Linked DNA regions of Homo sapiens: region 1 is linked to region 2. Evidence: promoter capture Hi-C in 16 types of primary human blood cells and fetal thymus (Javierre and others, 2016). All regions are on one chromosome and are shown on one strand. The core of a region is centred on a gene start or on the middle of the fragment in contact, and the rest is flanking DNA. Distances in the headings are between cores, read along the strand shown. Region 1 holds the start of SCN7A (sodium voltage-gated channel alpha subunit 7). Region 2 holds the start of SCN9A (sodium voltage-gated channel alpha subunit 9).

Region 1 (6,959 bases), core at 4,308-6,807, 120 kb after region 2:
CAGCGGTGTAACCTTGGCTCACTGCAACCTACGCCTCCCTGAGTCAAGGGATTCTCCTGCTTCAGCCTCCCAAGTAGCTAGGATTACAGGTGCATGCTACTACACCTGGCTAATTTTTGTATTGTTAGTAGAGCTGGGGTTTCACCATGTTGGCCAGGCTGGTTTCAAATTCCTGACCTCAGGTGATCTGCCCACCTCAGCCTCCCAAAGTGCTGAGACTACAGGTGTGAGCCACTGCGCCCGACCAACAGTCTCTTAAATAAAGTTTCATGTACTCTTTGGCCCAGCAATTAAGCTTTATAGAAATTATTGCTGAAGTTTGAGAAGTCATATTTGCAAGGATGTTTATCATAACATAATACTTTTAATTCCAAAGAGTAGAAATAAAATGTCTACCCTAAGGGACTAATAACAAAAATTCTAGTATATTGCTATCATGGAATACCTAGTTAGTTACAAAAAGGAATGAGATGGATATGTCTGTGCTCATACGGAAAGTTTCACCAAATCAGTTACTAAGTGAAAATGTAAAGTTGAGAACAACTTGCATCATTCACCTTTGAATAAAATGTTGTATAATGATTATATACATAAAGTTGTATACGTTAGCATGTGCATAATGTTTTCCCCTCTGGACATGAGTGAAGTGTTACATCTATGGAAAGAGTCCAAAAAGGTGTCAGAGGATTCTGTTGCTTTCCAGTTAATATTTCTATATTACTTGAACATAACGCACCATGTGTATGTATTACCAAAGCCCAGATATGGAAAATTTGCACACTGAAGTTTGAGGAATAAAGGACAGCTTGACTAAAATGACATCAATCCACTTGAAATTTTGCAACCATCTGTGTGAATAAACGTTCTTTAAATACCTCTTGACTTCAACCCACTTGGATTTTGCTTTTGGATTATTTTTTCACTTGGGTTGGTTACTTCCAATTTGGCGTTGATGATCTGATGCCTACTTTTTTACCTGTCTGTGGCAAACAGTTTATCTAGGCTGCTTAATTGACTTTTGCTACTTTCTCCTTGGATTCTGACTGCAGCTATGTTCTGCTTCCAGGTCAGTCCAGTTTGGCTTCAGGTTCTATTCTTCAATACGTCCACTTAATTCTGGACTCAACTTTCTCACTCTGACAATTTCAGCCAACAAATTCCTAGAATATGTTATCTTGCAAAAGAAAGTGGTAAGTAAGCAACTTTCTCAAAAGCATAAATATGCACTGCCATTTTAAAAAATATTTTGTCTCTAATTGATAAATAGTAATTATATATATTTAGGGGATACAAGTTGATGTTATTTTATATATATAAAATATATATATGTACGTATACACAAACATTGTGGAATGATTATATCAAGCTAATTAATATATCCATTATCTCACAGACTTATTTCTTTGTAGTGGAAACATTTAAAATCTATTCCTTTAGCATTTTGAAATATACAACACATTATTATTTAACTATCACCATCATGATGTGCAATAGAACACTTATACTTATGCCTCCTCTCTAACTGAAATTTTGCACACTTTGACCAACATCTTTCCTTTCCCCATTCACCCCCTCATCCCCAGCCTCTGGAAAGTACCATTCTACTCTCTACCTCCAAAAATTTGTCTTTCTTAGATTTCACATTTCTATGAGATCATGCAGTATTTGTCTTTCAATGCCTGGAATATTTCACTTGGCATAATGTCTTCCAGGTTCACTCATGTTGTCACAAATGATGTCTATTCAAAAGAGCTGAAATTAGTTTGTCAAAGAGATATCTGCTCTCCCATGTTTCCTGCAGTATTATTTACAAGAGCCAAGATATGGAAGAAACCTAAGTATCCATCAACATATGAATAGATAAAGAAAATGTGGTATATATACACAATGGAACGCTATTCGGACTTTTAAAAAAGGAGGCTGTCATTTGCACTGCTATTTTATTTGGATTATAATTCTTAAAATTTTTGACCCAGGCATTTTCTGAATTAAAAAAATCTAGAACTGGCACATTTACTGAAACCCTGGAGGCTTCTTAGAACTGGCTATTTACCTCTGCTTCTGACAATTCTGAAAATGTCTGTCTGTTTTTCCAGGATTCCAACCTGCCCTCCCTGCAACTCTCCCAAAAGCTCCTTTAGCTTTTCAAATGTGAAACCAAACATATAGATGTCCATCCCCTTCTCAAATTAGAGAGAAACTAGAAAGGTGCCTTGAAACATCTTAGGGTGAGCATGATTTAGTTTTTGTCTCACTCTGAGTTGGGCAAAAAATGTCCAACATGGAGCCCCAGGGCCAGAGAAAGAGAGTAGATATGGGCAAGAGCCTGTAATCAAGTGCTTAGACCATGTCGCCTCTGGGAGAACTCAGAGAGTGAGCAGCTGGTGGACTGGAAGCCTCACCTTAGCATTTAAAATAGGAAAGACAGACTACTCTACTCAGCACAATATATTCACCTAGGGTCTATGGCCCCCAAATCAGCATCACCTCCTGTTCTAGTTTAACACCAAATGCCCTATCATAATATCAGACCTTTCTAATCATAATTTCCATGAGTGGGGCCCCAGCTTCTGCATTTCTATCAAGCTCTTTGATGTCTAGGCAGTCAGTGTGGCACCTGACCCACACCATCATCAGAGCCGTCCATTGAGCTGGTTATCCTTGTCCAGCACCAGGCTGAGTCAATCCAATTATAAATACTGCAGAGACAACAGGGATATCTGTTTGCTAGGAATTTCAGGATGGAATATAAGAAGATGGCGCCTCATTTGTAATAAACAATAATTGAACAAATGAATGTAAAATAATAATCTTAGCTGGGTCAAGAGATATGCACCAACTCAAAAATAACCTCTGAAGCCCTCAGATGAAATCTTATCTTTAACTTCAAAGGCTCCTTCTTTCAATGTTGCTGCAATGAGACCTCACTTGTCTGGTTGGTTAGTCCTCACTAACAGAAGAGAAGGAACCAACGCAGGAAAAGAAAAGTGACATCTGTTTGTACAAGATTTTCTCATGTGATAATGGGTGACTGTGCATTGCTGATATCTGGAGTGGGGGTGGGGGTGGGCAGAGGTTATAGATGTTCTTCTCACACTGACAAATACTGAAAATGGTTAGTGGAAATAATGGGATCAGACTCCCAGAAATCAAGAATGTCCCTTTTACCCAATGCCTCCACCATAAGCTTTCAGGAGGGAGTCTAAGGCAGTAGGTAGATGGTGAGTCAATCTCTGAATACCCCAGTTGTGACACGTATCTCAACCCAATGAGATCTAGGGCTGGAGTGCAGATTTCCCAATCCCTGAGTAAGGGATTGGGGAAAATACTGTTATTTTTATTTCTAGTATGCTTTGGACAGGTATTTATCCTACTTTGGGAAAATCAGTGAGAGTGTATATCCGCTACCAAACCATCTACCACACGAGGCTACGGAGACAGAATGCCCAGTTTTGAAGTGCTTGGCTCTGCCTCCAGTACTCCAGTAGAGACTGATATGCAGCAGCAGGTCCAACGGTCGTGTGCCATCTGGGATCTGATGACCCCTTTTCCTGAGCCCATGTACAAATTGAGTTCTTTCTTCTATTACTTTAAACATATCCATGGGAAAGAAGGGACTCACAGTACCTATCCCCCAGGTGCAAGATTTTAATGAATCTTTGCAGTCAAGATTAGAGTATTTATGCCTAAATTTTGATTTCTCCTATGTTAAGTAACGGGCCAAATACATTCAGCAATATCCAATATACGTGATGGCTTCATCCCCAGGAAACAGGACTACAGACCTAAAATCAATTTTAAAACTAAAAACAGAAAGAGGGTAAAGCATATTTGGAGAATATTACAAGGTTTAAATATGCAAAGCTAGCCAAAGCACACACTTTTCACTTTTTTGAGGATAAAGGCTTTCAGATTAGAATATGCTTTAAACTGTACAGGTGGCAAGAAAAGGATTTGAATTTCACTTCCTCTAGTGCATTCTAGAGATGCATGTCAAAGCCCTCTGTATGCTTATATTGAATCAGACTTAGAAGGAAAATCAGAATAGTGAAGTAGATAAAAACACAGAATAATCCCTTATGTAATCAACAGTTACACATATGGTACTTTCATAAACCCTTTATATCATCTCTGTCAATTAGTTTTTGTCAGGACTTTTTGGAGTGTCATTTATAAATAAAGAAAATAAAGCTTACTCAAGTTAAATAATTGGCTTAATTTGTACAAAAATTGAAATCAAGTTTTGTAGTTCTAAATCCCAAAGACTTGTTCATTGGACTTCCCGCTCAATTACTGATTTGCCAGGTAGCCTCAGCAAATTACTCCTTATAGGTCTTACTTGTAAAAACAGCAGCTGGATTATAGAATCTTTAATTAAGGCTAGTCATAGCAGGTATGGTGCCCAGGATTCTGTTTATTACAGGGCCCACTTTCCTTCTACTTTGCCATAAATTGCTCTCCTGAATGAACAGCAGTGGGGTAAAGTATCCACAAGAAGCACCACCCAAACTCTTTCCCATTTCAAGATATTTTTCAGTCCAATATCCAAACTGGAACCCATCATTTTCGTTAATGAAAGGGGCCCATCGGTGTGTCATTCCACATGCACTCATCATTTGTCTTGTTTTGACCAATGTTCTAAGTTTTGAAGCTAACACAACCAGTCACACTATCACTTCTAAAAGAAAACCTCCAGAAGAGATGCATTTTATAGAGCAAAACAATGCAAAAACAACAACAACAATCTCTGTTGATCTAGTCAATACCAAAATGCCCAACTGACTAAACTGAGCACACCACTGCCAATCACATCAATGCCTCTACTTTTATACTATCTATTCCTTTGGGAAAATCAATCTTGAAATCTCTGTTATTTAGAATAAGAGATAGGATTCTTAGAAGAAGTGTACAACAATCTGCATAACCTTTCCTCCATTTTATACTATCATTGTACCATGTAATGTAAGTCATTGTCATATAGGGTTTCTAGAATTTTACACTAACAGAGAATGTTGGTTTCAGAAGCTTACCTGATGGAATTAGAAAACTGACGGCACATGCCATGCAAACACCCACAGACCACGGCTGCTCTTGAAGTATACTCTTGAAGTAACTCTCCTAATGCACGTCCACAATTTCAAATCTCTGTCCTCCTGCTGGGGACCCTAAGGGTGTGTATGGGATGGGGCAGGTGGGAGTGGATGGGAAAGGCTGGCAGCGGATAGCGGCTATCACCATTCTGGGACTGGACACAGCAGCAAGAAAAAGGCACTTACTTGCTACGAAGCGACAGGTCTCCACCAGTGCCTGAGGGACCCTTCAGGAGCAGGGCTCCTTGGAGCCCTTTCCTCCTCCTGGGCTTCTCTTTCTCCACGGATCTCTCGGGTTTTCTGAGCTCTAGTTGTACAGAAGCTGCTGTTAGGCTGGCGTCTGTCCTCACCAGCTGTGGCTCTGCAGTAAATGGGCCCCACTAAATGGCCAGTTAGACACCGACTCACTGGGGCGACTCTCCAGCCACTGACCCAGAGACCCCTCCTACCCAGATGTCCAGTGGAGCCGCGCCCGCTGCTTGGAAGCTGTTTTTGTCTCCTTTCCACTCCTCCCTCCCCTCTCCCAGCCACTCCACTCTCTCCCCCGCCCTAATCTCCAGGCCAGTGAGCGACTTCAGCATCCAGATCGGGCGTGGGCGGGTGATATTGACAGAGACCTGCTGCAGATGCAGTAACAGCAGCAGCTGTGGCGTCTCCTCCAGCAGCTGCCGGGAAGGGAGGGAGGAAGAGGAGCGGGGGGCTGATGAGGAGGGGTAGAGGGGAGAGGGCCTGCAGAGCGTGAAGGAATGAAGGGGCTAGGGAACATCCAAGGAGGAGAGGAAAAGGAGCAGCGCGGTGCAGCTGAGGGGGAAGGGAGAGTGAAAATGAGGGAGAGGAGAGGAAGACAGAAAACTCTGGTTCTTTAACCTCCAGTTGTATTCTCTCTCCCCTTGCCTAGGTGCCCCAGCAGAACTTAGAGGGGCAATTGTCAGCCTGCAGCATTCAAATCTGGACATTGCTGTAATTAAGAGTTTGTAATCCTGTTGTTGTGTGAGTATGTGTGTAGCTGTTTTTAGGAGAGTCAAGAGTCAGCTGGAGCTGGCTTTTACTCTGGATCAGTTTCCCACTCTAGTGATTTGAAACACGAGGGACAGAGGAAAAATTATGTTTATTTTAGAAAACTGCGGCAATACAGTGTAGTTTGGGAGTGAAGGCCAGAGGGGTTGCACCTTCTTCCCAAAGGCCACACCATAGAACCTTCATTTTGTAACCCTATTTTATGCACACATCACATCACTTACTTCAAAAATATATCAGCATATGTCTCTGAATGGTAAGAACTTAAGATTTTAACTCAATACCCTGATCACATCTATAATTAGCAATAATTATTTTGTAGCATCAAACATTCACTTGATTTCTTTATAATGGACAATTGACTGACTGCAGGCTTCTCTTCTCCACACTCTGGTGATGATGCAAATGAATTTTCTAGAGCATAAAACCTTCCCTTAGAGCAGTCTGACACATATATCCCTTTTCACCCAGTAAAATTCTACACACCTTTCTGTACATTCAAACACAATATAAATTTAATGAACTTAATATCAAATATTTCAAAGTTTCCATGTGATATTTAAAATAAATAAAAAGAAGTACTGCTTTTTATAATGTGTAATGAACAGGCAGTTGATCCCAAGATATTGTACAAACCAATCACATAAATGAGAGGCAAATAGATGGGAAACTAATGGTGTTGGTTTTATATTCTGAGTTAGCTAGCCATTTTCTTGTTTTGGAACAAATATTTGTTTTGGGACAAATATTTGGCACTACGGTTATATAACGGTTATGTAATATTACCAGGTTGGATCTGAAAAGTTTTGGCAATTATCGTGCCCCTAATAATGAGCTGAGGATCCTTCCTCC
Region 2 (6,548 bases), core at 3,033-5,532:
ATGACCTTGCCTCTCAAGTGGTAATCTAACTCTACACAGTTCTAAAGGAAGATGTCATAATACTTCTGTAAAGAATAAATTAGCTAATTTGTGATGTGTAATATGAAGGACCATCTTCAATTAGTACACAGATGCCCTCCAATACAACATCCACAATATGTCCTCTTCAGAGCAAATTTTTAAAAATCCCTGCTCACAATTAGTGAAATAATTTAGTCCTTCAAGATGTAATGTGGTAACCAAATTATTTACCAAAAATCTGTGGCTGGCCATTTGCTACATAAAAAAATCATTAATCAGTTTGTCACCTAATTGAAAGCTAAATTTTCAACCAAATGTTAATAGCAAAACTAGTTGTTTGTTTAATATCTTTAAGCATAGTCTGCAAAAATAAAGGGGGGAGGCAAATCACCATACAAAGTGTGTGTGTGTGTGTGTGTGAGTGTGAGTGTGTGTGTGGTAAAATTCTAGTATGAAAATGACACAATCATTTATGAGCATGAAGTTTGCAGTCCTTACTTCCACTCTAATAACAGTGATGGGTCTTCATGGATAAGCCCACATTGCCTCTCTGAACCTTCCTTAGAGAATGCTTCAAATATTTGGATAATGTGCCCTTTGTACCTGGGGCAAACATCAATTTAGACCGTGTGGAAACCTAACTTATGGCCTCCGCCTCATCTGACTACATTTCTATCAACTGAGCTCACATAAGCATCTATGTTTATTTTAAAAGAATATTTTAAATTCATAGTCAGTGACTATTGACTGGCCCTCAAATTTCTGTTAGATGATACAGATTTAAACCTAACAAGGTTATCATTTTAGATTTGGAGTCACTTATAACCATATTAGTTTATGCAATCCAATTTTTTCTTAAAATATATTTTAATACATTTGTGGTCACTGCCTTTCTAAGAATGCATTACAAATTACTTACCTTTAAGTACATTATCACCTACACTGATAAAAGAGAGAATACATCTCAGGATATTTTAATTTTACCTCCTCAATATCATACCATGATATTGTAAAAATACTAAATGCTTGACAAATAAAAAATAGAATCACAAAATTCATGTTTCCAGGGTTAATATGCTTTATTCTGGAAGAATCCATATTTTTGTATTTTATTATTTATATAAATATCTACGAACCCCCTACTACTTGATGCCAGGCACTATTCTGGAAGCTAAGTCAACAATGAAGACATAGTCTGGGTTCCCTTGGAGTATTTGGTATGCAAATTCACAAAATACCTGCATGCTGTAACAAGCAGTATGAAAGAAACAAGGTTCCAACATCAAGACCAACACGGGACAACCTACTTTTAACAAGATGATCAAAAATGATCTTTCCAAAACAAAAAAACCTCGAGTTGAGATTTAAAGTTTAAGAAGGAGTAAGCACGCATAGAGTTCAGGCATTGGGAACAGCATTTGAAAAGGCCTTAAAGAGTGCTATTGTTTCATGTGTTTTAGCCACGACCTGGGCAGGAGCACCTTAATGAGAAGAGAATAGGTTCTGGTGAGGTTGGAGAGAAGGGACAGAACAGAGAGTAAACCATATGCTGAGGAAAGGCATTTACTGTTGTTGCTAATTGGTCTCTGTGTTGCCATGTTTATTTCTTCTTCTCCTCTTCTTCTTCCTCTTTTTTTTTTTTTTTAAATGCAGTTGTGAGCCAATGTTTGTTAGGGGAGACAGGATGGTATTGCTTTGTATAGAGAATGAATTGCAGGGGAGAAAATTACAGAAGTGGAGAGATTGATATGGAGGCTGTGGCAGGATTCCAAGTAAATTATGATGATGACCTGAACTAATTTGGTGGCCGTGTAGATACAGAAAAGAGGGTGAATGAGAGGCATCTGAGACGTATGATGAAATAGAAATAAGTTTGGGAGATAAGATTGATAGATCTACTTACAGGCTGGAAAGGGCTGAAATGGAGTAATAAGGAAGAGAGCAATCAAAGGTGATTTCAATACTTGGATGGTGAAGGCATTTATTCAGATAATGAAGATGGGAGGAAAGAATCTGAGACAGAGTTTTAGGGAAAGTCATAAATTATTATCATTATGACATCTAGAATGTTCCATTTACATCAATAAACTTTAAGCTCTTTTACAAGATCATGACTTGTCTTAGAAAAGTACCATATAAATCCTTCTAGCACTTCACACTCTTTTGCATAACTAATAGGAATAGAAATTGGATAAAAAATAGATTTTATTATTCATGTAAAATGAAAAATTCTACTTTTTTCCTTGCCACAGAGAAAGTGGGTTGATTATATTAAATAAATAGAACCCTACTGATTGCTCTTCTGAATTTATTTATTTGTTTATCTATTTTGCTTCTGAAACTCAGCACAGCAACAGGTAGTAAAAACATAGAAGCATTACCACAGAAGGGCTCCCATGATTATATGCAGGCCCTAGGGGAAAGGAGGCCCAAGATGCTTTTGGCAGAGAGCCAGACCTGACTCATCTTTCTTCTGTAGAAGCATCAGGTACTCTGTGAGCCTAGCCCTGCACCATAGGAATCAAGGCATATCATATATCCAGTCACTGTAAAAACACATCACTGAGTCCCACAACTGCACAGTGGCTTACTTAAGGAAACCTCCTTTTAAACCTCTACAAAATTTTAAAAAACTTGTCTTAAGCCAAACTATCAGTTGCCTAAATAGAGGGCACATTCTTCTTTACATCAAATACCATATTCTGTCTAGAGTTTTGTTGTTGATAAGCTAGTCTAACAATCATGAAAATTTGCGACACAGGGATCAGATAAGACTAGCTTTCAAACTAATCAATAATTTTTAAAAAATCTCACCATAATTATAAGAAAAAATTATAAACTTTTTTAAATAGTGGAAAAAATCTGAAGAATTTGCAATAAAATGAACAGTTTAATAATTGGATTTGGTTTGCAGTTTATATAAAATAGGTTTATATTGATGTTAAAGCAAAAATTATAAAATATATTTAAATAACAAGGAAAGAAAGAGAAAGAAAATCTTTATCTTGTCTACAGGGAAGAAGAAATAGAAAAGAATAATAAATATGTTTCTGAAAAGAACTGAACTTCCCAACACTGACTTCCTATTCAGTAACTGACAAGCTATCACTTCCTTGAAAGCTTACTTTGATTTGGCTTTTATCTTACTGACACTAGCTTCTTAAAAACCCCCCTAAGTTTCTCATGTAAATTGCTCTTAACATCAGAGTAGATATAATCTATGAACGCTCCAACTTAAAAAAAAAAAACTAAAATAATGAGTGAAATGTTTACTATAATCACAAAAACTGGCATTAATGTTTCTAGTTTCTTGTTCTGATTTTTGTCTTGAATATAAGGCACGAAAATATCCATTTTTTCCTAAAAGTAAATGAGTTTCCCAAGTTGAATTCGATAAAAAGTTAAAAGGATTCTGCATCTTTTCTGAATTTCACTATAAAGTGCTTATTCGAAAAAATAAATAAATAATCTGCGCTGAGAAATAGGGGCAGAGCTGTCCTGTCAATTATTTGTGTTTGTGTGCTCTTAAGGGGTGCGGGGTTCTTTTCTGTCCCCACAGGTTGTATCTGCTAAGCTGGTTCTGCACGCTCAGCTTTGCAGATGGGAAATACAGCACATGCTTTTTGCTCGTAAAAAATGTGAGCTGCCCCTTGAATTGAAGTCCATCTAACAACTCTGCTAGCGTAAACAGAAATAAAAGACAGTAAACCACCAGGCATTGCTACCCTTCCTTTCCACAGTTTCAGAACCTGGCAGCAAACCCACAGAGTCAAAACCGCACAGGAGCTGCCCAGCTATCGAAATAACTACGCTTCCAGCCCTTCTTCCTCCCATTGCTGGAACCACCCGGTCAAGCTTCTCCCCTCTCTTCTTTCCAGGTGGCGTAATACAGGGTTCCAGAACCGAGATGTGAAAATAGACACAGGTGGGTGTGGCGGTTGAGGCGAGCACGGGCGAAAGACCGAGGGCTTCTCCTCCCCTCCCCACAGAAGCAGCAAAAGAAAAGGCACTTACTTGCAACCTAGCCCGCCGATCATCCCCACCCAGTGCACCTGCAGAATCTGGCTCCAGGAGAGGGCGCGGGCCTCTCCTTCCCCGGCGCTCTCTCAGGGCTGCTTCTTTTTCTCTGGGCTCCTGTTGCTCAGGGGACGCCTGCCGCTAGCAGCCACTGGCACCCAGGCTAGCCCAGCCTCAGCCGAGCTGGCGGAATTGGAAAGCCGACAGCCGCCGCTGGAGCGCTGGCGACCGCCTGCAAGCAGACTGCGCCCCTCCTGCCAGGGCGCGCCCGTGGAGGTAGCAGCCCCGCCTCCCCGAGGGCAGCTGCGCCGCTTTGCCTCCTCCACTCCTCCCAGCGCGCCCGGGTCCCCACCCCTTGCTCCCTCCCTCCCTCCCTCTCTCCACTCCTGCGGGCGGCGCAGGGCGGGGACCCAGCTAGGGGCGCGGTGGTGGCGACGCTGTAGCCTCTGCACCATGCGCTAATAGAAGGCGGAGGAGGGGGTTGCACGACCTGCCATCCACGGCCACCCATTGGGTGGGGCGTGTGTGTGTTTGAGTGTGTGTGTGTGTGTGTCCAGCAGCCAGAAGAGCCCTTCCCTTATCTCACCCCCGCCCCCATCATCCCTTTCCTCCCTTCCTGCTCAGCAGAATCGGCTAATGTTTCCGAGAAGTCACTTTGTGTGGCTTGGTGGGGAGCTGGAGAAAAACTCCGGAGCAGAGGAGGTGGGGACCAATGGCAAAGCCCTGAGTCTGGGGCAGTGGCTGGGGAGCCAGACAACACCGCCAGGCCAGCGCCTCCCCGACCTTGGGCTCTGAAGAGTCTAGGCTGGGAATTGGTTTCTTCCGTAGGGCTTTGCTCACAACCGCGAGTGGGGCGGTGACGCTCAAGACCGGTATCTAGGCTATGTTTTCTGTTTTCTTTATATATATGTATATATAAAATCAATTGAATTGCAGCGTCTTCCAGGCAAGCAAATAATACATTTTCTTTCGAAGATGCAGTGAAGAATCAGAGGAGGTCCTAGGTGGGGAAAGAAACGTGGGGAAAAGGCTGCTTTTCCAGACCTGGGACCCGATTATCTGAATATGCCATCAGTCATATGGGTTCTGAATTTCAGAGCTGGTAGGAGCGACTGTGAAAATAAATTTTTTAAAAATTCATTTTGTGTGGAGTGTGTGCGTGCGCTTTCCTACAGCAGCCTGGGAGGAAGAACAATGGAAACAGGGTTGAATTATCTTTCTCAAAGAGAAACAGGAAATTTCCACCAAGGGAAGAAATCAAAGGATGGCCATAGGGCAGGGTGCCTCTCAAAAGGGCAGACCACTTTGCAGGATAAACACTAGTGACGGGCACTTTTATTATTTGCTTCCACACCTTCTATCATGGAAATGATGCTTAGAGATAACCGGAAGGAAATCAAATCCCAGGGTCTACTTTTCCCTGCTGCTTTCTTTGCTTCTGAGATTTGTCCTGGGGCTTTGGACCTTACATTCTTGACTTGTAAGATGTGCTATTGAAGGAAGGAAACTTCAGTGACTGAGACTGTGCAATGAAGGTGAACTAGCTCACTTGTGATAATTCTCAGTGCCATATCCTGGACAAATCGCCTTCTCTTCCCTGATTGGTGGTAGATATAGGAAGAAGAGTTCAACTGCAATAGGAATAATGGTCTTTTTTATTAGATGCAAGCAATGCCACATTCTTTTATTTTTAAAATTTTATTTTTAGAGCAATTTTAGGTTCACAGCAAAACTGAAGGGAGGGTACAGAGATTTCCCACATAACCGCTACTCCCACACAAGAATAGCCTCCCCCATTATCAACATTCCCCACCAGAATGAAACATTTGTTAAAATTAATGAACTTACTTTGAGGTTTCATTATCTCCCAAGGTCTGTAGTTCACATTTAGGGTTAGCTCATGGTGTTGTCCATTCTATGGGGTTAGGCAAATATATAATGACATGTATCCACCATTACAGTATCTTACAGAGTAATTTCAGTTCTCTCCTGAATTCTCTGTGTTCCACTTATTCATCTCCCATTTCAACCCCTGGCAAGTACTGATCATTTTACTGTCTTTATAGTTTTGCCTTCTCCAGGATATCCTATAGTTGCAATAATACAGAATATAGCCCTTTCAGATTGACTCCTTTCACTTAGCAATATGCTTTTAGTTTTCCTCCATGGCTTTTCATAGCTTGATAGCTCATTTCTTTACAGTGCTGAATAATATTCCATTGACTGGTGGTACCATAGTTTATTCATTCACCTACTGAAGGACATCTTGTTTGCTTCCAAGTTTTAGCAATTATGCGTAAAGCCTCTATAAACATCTTTGTGAAGGTTACTGTGTGGACATGTTTTCAAGTCCTTTGGGTGAACATCAAGGAGCACAATTGCTGGATCATATGGTGAGAGTATGTTTAGTTTTTAAAGAAACTGCTACACTGTCCTCAAAGTGGCTGGAGCATTTTGCATTCCCACCAGCAATACATGAGAGTTCCTGTTGCCTCACATCCTTGGCCAGA

The links. Contacts are between HindIII fragments. The CHiCAGO score rates a contact against its expected background, and 5 or more counts as called.
Region 1: a contact is called between the fragment with the promoter of SCN7A here and the fragment with the promoter of SCN9A in region 2, in 1 of 17 cell types (fetal thymus). The highest score is 6.9, in fetal thymus.

The regions. Positions count from the first base shown.
Region 1 is chr2:166,488,692-166,495,650 of GRCh38, forward strand. SCN7A (sodium voltage-gated channel alpha subunit 7) reads right to left here and starts at 5,558. Exons shown (of 26, transcript NM_002976.4): 1 at 5,277-5,558. The HindIII fragment of the contact is 2,984 bases long and covers 5,024-6,959 here.
Region 2 is chr2:166,371,662-166,378,209 of GRCh38, forward strand. It overlaps SCN9A (sodium voltage-gated channel alpha subunit 9), which reads right to left and starts at 4,283. Exons shown (of 27, transcript NM_001365536.1): 1 at 4,036-4,283. The HindIII fragment of the contact is 2,904 bases long and covers 3,875-6,548 here.